Linked DNA regions of Homo sapiens: region 2 is linked to region 1. The links are contacts of gene promoters, found by promoter capture Hi-C in human tissues and cell types (Jung and others, 2019). All regions are on one chromosome and are shown on one strand. The core of a region is centred on a gene start or on the middle of the fragment in contact, and the rest is flanking DNA. Distances in the headings are between cores, read along the strand shown.

Evidence for each region. Contacts are between HindIII fragments. The study calls those that stand out against the background at their distance.
Region 2: a contact is called between a fragment that was not itself captured here and the fragment with the promoter of SMIM15 in region 1, in 1 of the 25 tissues and cell types used here (dorsolateral prefrontal cortex).

Annotation. Positions count from the first base shown.
Region 1 is chr5:61,160,758-61,165,579 of GRCh38, forward strand. It overlaps SMIM15 (small integral membrane protein 15), which reads right to left and starts at 1,711. Exons shown (of 3, transcript NM_001048249.4): 1 at 1,460-1,711; 2 at 331-470. SMIM15-AS1 (SMIM15 antisense RNA 1) reads left to right here and starts at 1,559. Exons shown (of 4, transcript NR_109908.1): 1 at 1,559-1,769. RefSeq lists enhancers at 878-1,774, 1,260-1,339, 1,410-1,669, 2,200-2,299, 2,340-2,399 and a silencer at 1,850-1,959. The HindIII fragment of the contact is 13,088 bases long and covers 1-4,822 here.
Region 2 is chr5:61,606,377-61,611,541 of GRCh38, forward strand. No RefSeq gene overlaps it. Among named protein-coding and RNA genes, the nearest start is that of LINC03122, 29 kb to the right of the region's middle. The HindIII fragment of the contact is 5,717 bases long and covers 1-4,427 here.

The sequences.
Region 1 (4,822 bases), core at 461-2,960:
ATATGCCAAAGAAGCAAAAAGTACTGTGCTATTTTATGCCCTTTCAGCTTTGAGGACCTCTGTTGGAATAAGCCTAATTTAATAAATGAGAAAGTAGCCTTAACAGATGCCATGTGTTTTGTTCCTTTTTGAGTGTAAGGAAAAGGCAACTGGCAAATGAGGATTATGTGACTTGAGTGACGTTTTCTATTTTGCCCCAGAGGCTTTTCTCCCTTTCATGTTTGTGTCAACCGCTATTCAAAGTGGAGAATTAGAATACCTGGGTAGGGAATGAGTGTATATACATCCACTTACAATTTCAACTGGAATTTTTTTAAAAAAATCATCTACCTTATGCTTGAGTAGTGATCCCTTAACTTTGTCCTGGTGTTATTAGTGACCCAATCACGACTTCAGATGACCCTTGGTAGTCTGTCTTCTTGAGTTCTACTGTACACATCTGAGAGACGGTTTAAATTCTGTACAATTGGCTAGTTGGAAAGAATACAAAAAATAAAACAAAATTTAAGTCACAATTTCAGGATAATTGTAATAAAATTTTAAATGGAAAATTTCTATATTGTATATATGCAACCTATATGACATCTAAAATTGCCTATCCGGTATAGTAACTTAATACGTTTCTTCCTCATTTGAATTTACAATTGCAAATGCCCTGTAAGAAAATCCTAATTACTGGAAATCAAGTATTTTACTAAGTTACTTATTTCAATAATAAAATTTTTTTAGTTCATTGACATACGGGAGACAAGTTGGCTCACTGACTGACTTACACAGCGTATCCGTTCCTAGATTTTCAATTTTTATACTAAAAATGTTGCCACTCATTTATTTACTGGATTAGGTACACCACTACAAAATCAAACAGCTCATCTTACTCTTTATAAAGGTTTTTTTGGGTCCATCATACAATTTGTGTCCTTTACTTAAAAAATTAGAAGACATAACCAAACAAATTATAGTAATTCACCCACAGTCCCATTACCCCAAGAAAACTGTGACTAGTTTTAATTATATCTTCCCCACGATTTTCAACTGAACACACATGAAAGTGCCTAATACGTTAAATATCTTAGCTCCTGGACTTCATACGACCTCACCCATACAGTTAGAATTAGGTACTACTGAGATCGATCTGCCTTCACCTTCTCCAGCCCAGTAGCGAATAAACAATGTAAGTTTCAGAAATAAGCAAAAGAACTTTGCAGTAAAAGAGCCATGGTCCACAGGCCACACATCTCCCTGCAACTCAACTTCGGACCCAAACGCTCGCGCCTCCACACTTTCAGGAATAAATCCTACTCTTCCGCCCAAAACGGATCGACCAGGCTCGATCTCCCAACCAGACCCGCGTGGCCCCTGCGGCTGCAACGGGTAGCACTTGACGGCCGTCCGCACTTCCTCCTTTGTCTTTCCCTTATTCCTTACGTTTCTCCCTTGCTCACTCTTCCCTCCTTACCCTATCGGGGCTGCAGACCCACGGAGGCCACGTTCACTCCTGCCCGTCGGCCTTGGCAAGCGCGGGCCCCTTGTCGCGCAGAGCGGAGGGTCCTGGGAGATCCTGGGTTGGCCCAGCCACACCTTGCGCCGCCGCCGTTTCTGCTGGACACCAGGAGAAAACCACGGCAGCTGCAGCCACCAACTTCCCCTACATAGCCCCACGGGATCGGATCCCACTCCCCACTCACCGCCAGACCGGAAGCAGGAAGGCGGAAGTCGCGGCCTTTGCGTCCCGCCCACAGGCGACCCGAGCCGCCAGCCGGGCGTGAGTAAGTCTAGGGCCCAGTTTCCGGCTGCGCCATTGCTGTGTGGGTCTTGGGACCTCGAGTTGGAGGACGCGGGAGGGTGGGGGCGGGGGCAGGGCAGCGCTGAGATTTCCGGGGAGCGGCAGGTGAGGCCGCGCGGGGCGGGTGACGGCACCCGGGCGGGCTCCTTTCCAGGCTGGAGCCCGAGACTGCCACGTCCTGCGGGGACCAAGTGGTGGGCGAGGAGGCGTGGAGCGGCTTCAGGACTCGAGGAGCGGTTCCGAAGCAGCTAGGGACTTTTGCCTTTGCCCCCCGAGGTCGATCGGAAGACAACCCCCATCCCCTGCTGTAGCGGGACAGTTGGAGGGTCATGGGTGGGTGAAGTGTTTGGCTGAGGGAAACTCAGACCAAAGAGCAGCGGCAAGAAAGCAGTTGGGTCCCCACAAAACGCCCGAAGTCAAGGTGAGGGTCACACAACGACTCTTGACGATTCCGGCGAGTTCATCCTGGTGCACATCCCACTCCATGCCTCTCTCTTCTGGTTGGACAATAGTTACATCCTTACGAAAAGGAGGCAAGCTACTGGGCCTTGGTGGATCCACTCAACCTTGTTACCAAGGGACATGCCGCCATGCTATGTGAAAAGGGGGGTTTTGTTGTTTGTTTTTAATTTAAGTATCTAATTCGTTTCACGAAAGAATGATCAATACCGGCCCAGAGTAAACTTGATAAGTAATTAAACTGTCAGGGCATAGAGTTCCCATAGAGGTGCTTGTTCTTTCAATACACAAATAAAGGGATGCAAAAGTCAACATGCAGAAAGGGTGAGTTAATATTGTCTTCTAATCTACAGGAACTGAAAGATTAGCTAATCTGGTTTGGTTGGTGACCAAATTTTGTGATTGCTTGCACTGTTTGACTACCTCTGACAAATGTTGCAAGACCTCTTCACTGATTCTCCAAAGACTATAGAATGTTCTCTTTCAGGAGCAAGCTGCGACATGTTTAACTAGTTTAGGTAAAACAACAATAACTGTTATTTACCAGGGAACAGGCTTTTGGCAGATAATCTAACGATCTACGATACTGTTCGTTGGGCATATGTTAATGTTTGTAATGTTGTATTACCAGCAGTTGTTTTCTTACTCCTTTTTATTTGAAAACCTGGATGATAGTTTCAAAGCCTATGCTGCTTAGGCCTAGCCTGTACCTTAGTAGCCAGAAAAAGTAGACTCAGTCACTGGATTGTGTGCACTGAATACTTACTTGAGATAACTGATTTTTCTAAAACTTCCCCAAGTCTTGAATCCAAGATGTGGGCAGAATGTATTATTTTAACATCCTTCGTTCCAGAGGCCAATGCGTGTTTTATTTTAATCATGATAGGTGGTTTTCCCAGTTACTGCCTCCGGATACTTGCAGTGCTGCATCCCTAGTTAAAAGCCCAGAAGTCTTGGGCAGGAAGGAAGGGCATATAAAGAGAAAGCCTTTGTAGTTCTTTAGCTGTAATCTAGACCAGGGGTCCCCAACGACGGACTGGTACCTGGTTTGCAGCCTGTTAGGAACGGGGCCGCACAGCAGGAGGTGAGCGATGGGTGAGTGAGCATTTCCGTCTAAGTTCCGCCTCCTGTCAGATCAGCAGCATCATTAGATTCTCATGGTGCGAACCGTAATGTGAACTGCATGTGCGAGGGATCTAGGTTGTGCGCTCCTTATGATAATCTAATGCCTGATGATCTGAGGTGGAACAGCTTCATCCTGAAAGCATCCCCCATCCCCGTCCATGGAAAAATTGTTTTCCACGAAACCAGTCCTGGATGCCATTAAGGTTGGAGACTGCTGATCTAGACCATGCCTTTACAATCTAAGTTTGCTCATCTAGCTTCAAGTTACAGGACAGTCTGCAAGACCAGGAACAGCATAGGGGTTGCCACAGTGGAGCTCCTTACTGCAGTCTGCATTGCCTTAACTAAAGGTGGTGTCAGGATTGATTCAAATACTGTGAACTACTTTCCATAAAGAGAAGTCTGAGCTCGTGAACTGAGATTCACAGTTGTGGTACAGTAATGTTATGTATACTCTGATAAATCACTCTGAGTGTGTTTCCACTTAGATATGTGGAAAGCATACTAGGCAATCTCCAATGCCCTTTCAGCTTTAAAATCTGTAAATTGGACTGGATTTGGTCATTTTTCTTAAATAAATAGCATAGTAAGGTATTTGATAGAAACATTATTGCAAGTTTTCTTAAGGTCTTTTTTTTTTTTTTTTTTTTTAATTTTGAGACGGAGTCTCTGTCACCAGGGCTGGAGTGCAGTGCTGCGATCTTGGCTCACTGCACCCTCCACCTCCCAGGTTCAAGCGATTCTCCTGCCTCAGCCTTCTGAGTACTTGGGACTACAGGCGGGCATCACCACGCCCAGCTAATTTTTGTATTTTTAGTATAGATGGGGTTTCACCATTTGGCCAGGATGGTCTCGATTTCTTGACCTCGTGATCCACCCGCCTCGGCCTCCCAAAGTGCTGGGATTACAGGCGTGAGCCACCACCGCGCCTGGCCTTTTTTTTTTTTTTTTTTTTTAAACACGGTCTTGCTCTGGCCCAGCTGGAATGCAGTGGTGCGATCATAGCCCACTGCCTCTTCGAACTCCTGGGCTCAAGGGATCCTCACTCCTCACCTTCTGAATAGCTGGGACTACAGCCACAAGCCACCATGCCCAGCTTAGCATACTCATTATTTTTTAAACCTATGACCAGTGTTAATTTTCTGCTTAATGTATTCAGTTCTAAGTCAAGCCCAACTAGAGAGAATGAGTTTCAGTGATTTTTTTTTTTTTTTTTTTTGAGACAGGGTCTCACTAAGTCACCCACGCTGGGGTGCAGTGGGTCCATCACTGCTCACTGCAGCCTTGACTGCCTGGGCTCAAGCGATCCTCCCACCTCAGCCTCTAGAGTAGCTGGGACTACAGATGCATGCCACTATGCCCAACTAATTTTTAAAAATTTTTTTCTAGAGGCAGGGTTTCACTCTGTTGCCCAGGCTGGTCCCAAACTCCTTGCCTGAAGTGATCCTCCTG
Region 2 (5,165 bases), core at 319-2,818, 450 kb after region 1:
TCTCGAGCTCCTGACCTCTTGATCCTCCCGCCTCGGCCTCCCAAAGGGCTGGGATTACAGAGCACTTATCTTCAACAATTGTTGAGAGGATAAGATAATGTGTACAGAACTGTGCTTAGAACAGTGACTGGCACATAGTTATATATGAAAGCTACTAAGATAATGATTGTATGTAAGCATGGAATGCTTCAGTTGTCATGCATGCAGAGGCTGTTCCAGGTCCTTTGTTAGGTGCCAAGGACACAAAGAACCAAGGAGCCACAGTTTGGGGCTGTGAGGATCATCCAGTCTAGTTGTGGAGACAGAAAGTTAGGCAAATGTTTCTTTCATCTTGCAACAGGTGAATGATGACAGCTGCAGGCCAGGCCAGAGCACACAGGAGAGTGTGCAGCGGTGGGAGGCAGGGAGGCAATGGAGGGACCGGGTGGGAATGACGGTCCAAGCAAGGCCGGTGCAGAGGCGCAGCCTGGGAGGCTGGAGTGAGCAAAGCAAGTCGCAGGCATTGGTGGCTGGGAACACAGTTGGAGACCCTGGAGCCCATCCAGAGCTGAGGCAGAAGAGGCAAGGGTGAAGGTGAACTGGATTATCAACTTCAACCAGCAACCACTTTTGTCTATATCCTGAGCCCCTACAGCAGTGCCTGGCACTTGGAAAACAATAAATAATTGGTTGACTAAAGGAAAGTGAAAGAAGAGGTTACAATGGACGCAAGAAGAGATAATGACCCCAGTAACACCTCTGAGGGAGCCAGAGAGGGGAGGCCCTGAGCGATGGGTGGAGGTGGTGCCCAGCCTCCCCTCTGACAGGAGGCGGGAGATGAGGGTATGTGGGAAACACACTTGTGGGGCAGTGGTGAGGGTGGGGGAGGAGGAGCTGATGAGGGCCTGCCTCAGGCCTTGGCGAGCTGGGAGGTGGAGCCACCGCCCTGCTGGGGATGAAGGATAGCGATGGAGGAGAGCGCCCTGGGGGAACGCCTCCATTTTGAGTTGGCGGTGACGAGGAATGGGAAGAGAGCTCCCAGGGACTGGAGGCATGACTGAAGGGCCAGAACAGGTGGACGGTGGAGTTGGGAAGGGCACCATGGGCGCCACGGTGGCACTTTTCTCTCGCATACCTCACCTGCCTGGTGTGGGCGCAGGGAAGGGGACTGGGGGTCCATCAGAGCTTACTGTGGCACCGGGCCAGCGTGAAGGAGCAAAGCAACAGGCCACGGGGCCTCTACTGGGGAGAGAAAAGCAGAGAGAAAGGACCCAGCCACTTCCGAGAGGAAGGAGGTCAGGAGGCTAGGAGGCTGAGGCCAGAAGAGCAATAGTGGGGGTTCTATTTCCTCTCACAGATGGAGGTTTCTTGCCTTTGCTGGAATTCTTCCCCTACCACCATCTCTGTATGTACAATTTTCTCATCCTTCAAGGCTTCACTCAAATGTCATTTGAACTTCTCAGAGGTAAAATTGCTCCCTCTGTTGAACTCCTATCTTCCTTGGGGCTGTAATTATTTGCCCATGTCATTCTCATCTTTCTCATGTACGCTCCTGAGGACCACCTCAGGTTTCAACTCCACTGCCCCCACGGACGCTGCTGAACTGCTTCTTGTGCAGGGCAGGTAAACATTTGTGACATGAAACCATCACTTCTAACAGAATCAATTCTATGTCTGATTGATGTTCCCTTAGAATTAAAAAAATAATTCTATCTGTGGATTCTCGTTCTGTAGAAAGGCAATGTTGCATGAGAGAAAGCATATACATTTTGAATCAGGGAAACGTGGCTTTCCTTATTGGGATAATGCATTGATGTCCTAGTGACCAGAAATGGTATGTAAATTAGCAAGGCATGCACTTGCGCATATCATAACAGATCACAAAAAGACACCCCTTGCTTTGGGATGCTACAGACGCCACAAAGACAAAGAATTTGCATGTGGATTTCAGTCCTCACGTGCCTTGCAGCCAGACACCTTTTTGCAGAGCACATCTGTAAATTGTGGCCTCCGTAAAATACCTGGCATACAGTAGGTATTAAATAAAAGTAGCAATTATATTTATAGTTATTATTAGTACATCATTATTATTATTATATACAGCACCCACCTGGCATTGCATGCAGACAGATCCTTGGATTAACATTCCTCTGCAGTTGAAGTTTTTCTATTTTAAAGATTTAAATCATAGGCACATAGTAGCACAGTCTGTCTTGAAGAAGAAAAATGAAAGGCTGTAGTAAATGATGCTATTAGAATTATACTTTCCTCATTACAGAAGTAATATGACCCTGCTTTGGGGCTCCAAGCTCTCACTGATGCTGAAATTTAAAATACAGGGTCTAGACCAGAACCCCAGAGTAAAAGGAGTGATTGTAAGAAGTCATATAAATGGATTTGATCTCTTGTTAGTGGTCCGTATTCTCTTGGTAGGGCTAGAGAAGTCAACTTATTATCAATAAAAAAGAATAAACACTTTATAGGAAGCTATTTTCTCTGTCACAAAATGTTTTATATGCCTGTCAATAATTGTAACTGTTAAATATGACATATTGATGAATATAGTGGGACAAAAGGATGCTTTTTTCTGATTAGGGTGGAAAGATTTTAGTCTTTATTTTATGGATGGAAGTAATCCAACTCACAAACTTCAGCTATCTATAATCTTCTATGGGAAGGCAATAAAAGAAAAAGAAGAAAAAGAAAATTCTGAAAGGAGCTCTTTCAGCTAAGAGCCCAAGCCTGTGGAACTTGCCCTTCTCACAACTGGCTCCTACGGCTGCCTGGTGGACCTCAGAACCATTGCAGCCCTTGGTTCTTTGTCAGACCTGCGGGTAGGGTACACATAGTGACTGTACGGTTGAGGGGCCCATCCTCCTGGGCACCGGCATTTGTCTCTTACTCACTCATGGAGATAAACTTGGCTGTCTACTTGACCAGAAGTAGCAGTTGGAATGTCTATGGGTGAGAACAGAGAAAGCCAGAGACTCCTGCATTTGATTGTTAGAAAGACAATCAAATGGTTCTCTCTACAGAAACATTGTAAGAACAGTGCAACAAACAACCATTGATCCTTCTGGTGGATCCACTGGCTGTTACTATTTTGCCACATTTATTTTCTCTCTCTGTAAATGTCCCTATACACATACATATATACATTTTTATTATTTTTGCTAAGCCATTTGAGAATAAGTTGCAGACATCACGACCTTTACTCCCAAATACTCAGCATGTATCTCCTAAGAACAAGGGTGTTCTCTTAGAAAATCACAATGCAATCATTGAGTTCTTGACATTGTATATGGATGCAATACTATGATCTATCTTGCAGTCCTCTTCAGTCTCCTTTAATCTAGAACAGTTCCCCAGTCTGGCTTTGTTTTTGGCAACATTGACATTTCTGAAGGGTAGAGATGTTGTTTTGTAGAAGCCTTTTCAGGTTGGGTTTGCCTGGTATTTCCTCACGATTTGATTCAGGTTGTGCATGTTTTGGCAGGAATATCACAGAAGTGCTATTTTATCCTCTTCACTACATCATATTAGGAAGCACGTGATGTCAGTTTGTCCCATTAGTGGTGATATTAAGTTTGATCTTATGGTTTAAGTGGTATTTACCAGATTGCTTCACTGCAATGCACCCGGTCCCCCTTTGGAATTAATGAATAATTTGCAGGGAGACAGCAAATGGGTTTTAAACTAAAAACACTTTCACAGTTGAATAGTGTTGATCACACTTTAGAAACTCAAGCCCAATGCTGCTGTTGGCAAGAGGAAGTTATAAAAATAAAAGTCTTCTCCCTCTTCAAAACTAGAAAAAGAAAAGTACTTTCAGGAGAAGGAAAAAGCTTTTCCCTTTTTAAATTTGGAAGTCAGAAAACACAGAGAGGGCTATGGGTAAAAACAGGCGAAAAAATGAGAACTGAATTAAAATACTTCTGACTTCTGGCGCTCACCCAGAGTAAATGAACAGTGTGCATGCACTCTGAGAAGATAGAAAATGCCATATATATATATTTATATTTGATGTGATGGGTGCAGAGTGGTGGTTGCTCCCAGCCAGGTCATTTCAATAACAACAGGAGACCACAGTTACTGCTGAATGGCATCTTTCAGGCTCAAGAGCTTCCGCAGTCTCTCCACTTCCATACTGATTAGAAGTGCTTGAGATACATCATAACAGTGTCAGTGCAGTGTTTATGGGGGAAATTGTCGCTGTCTCTCGCTTGTGGAAGGTGACATAATGGGATTTCTTCCCTTTGTCCTGGTGACAGGATGATGAGCACTGTCTGGGCTCCAGTTCGGCGGGCTTTGCCATTCAGGCATCCGGCGCAGCTGACAAGCCCGAGGATCGATGGAGAAGGTGAGTCTTGTCACTTGGGGGGAAGAGGGAGGTTCAGCAGATGATGGGGAGCCAGTGGGTGCCCCCAAATTCCTGTGTGAAAGAACACTTAGAAATGCTGGTCGACTGAACGAAAGTGGGCGGGGCTAGACACCAAAGTTGGGGGCAGGGAAGTGGCTCCAGTCTGTTTCCTGGGAGGTTTCTGAGGCTCTGGACCCAGAAGACTTAGGGGATTGGTACCCCAGGTGCCTTTTTCAGGGTTGGTGTCTAGGTACAGATTCAAAGCATCTTTACCCCTTGTCAATTCCTCCCCTACTCCCCAACCCCAAGTCACTGACATGATTTGTCTGTGTATTAATATTGTGTCTAGTTCCAGAAAGGTTTTAAGAAGTCTTGCTGTGATATATTATTAATTGCATTGAGCTGCACATTTCAGCTGAGACAAATTAAACAATATGTACTGGAGTGAGGGGTATGTGGAGGGAGGGAAAGAGAGAGAGAGAGAGAGATCCCTTCATTCACCTTGTCATTTTTCCCAAGTGAACTAGACCATCTCTACTAGTACCACAGGAAAAGGGATGACATAGCAGTAAAACAAACTGGAATAAAATTAGTTCACTGCGAGTGCTTAGGTCCTAGTTATTTCAGGAATTTTAAAGGATGATTTTGTGATTGCCAACCTCTGCCTTGATTATTTCGATCACGGCAGAAGCTTCTGAATGGTCTCCCTGGCTAGACTTATACTTTCTAGTCCACTTTCTAACTTGCCGCCAGAGTGAGATTTCAAGCACAAAGACCCGGACAGATAAGTCCTCACATGAACATTTCATGACAGCCTATTACTGTC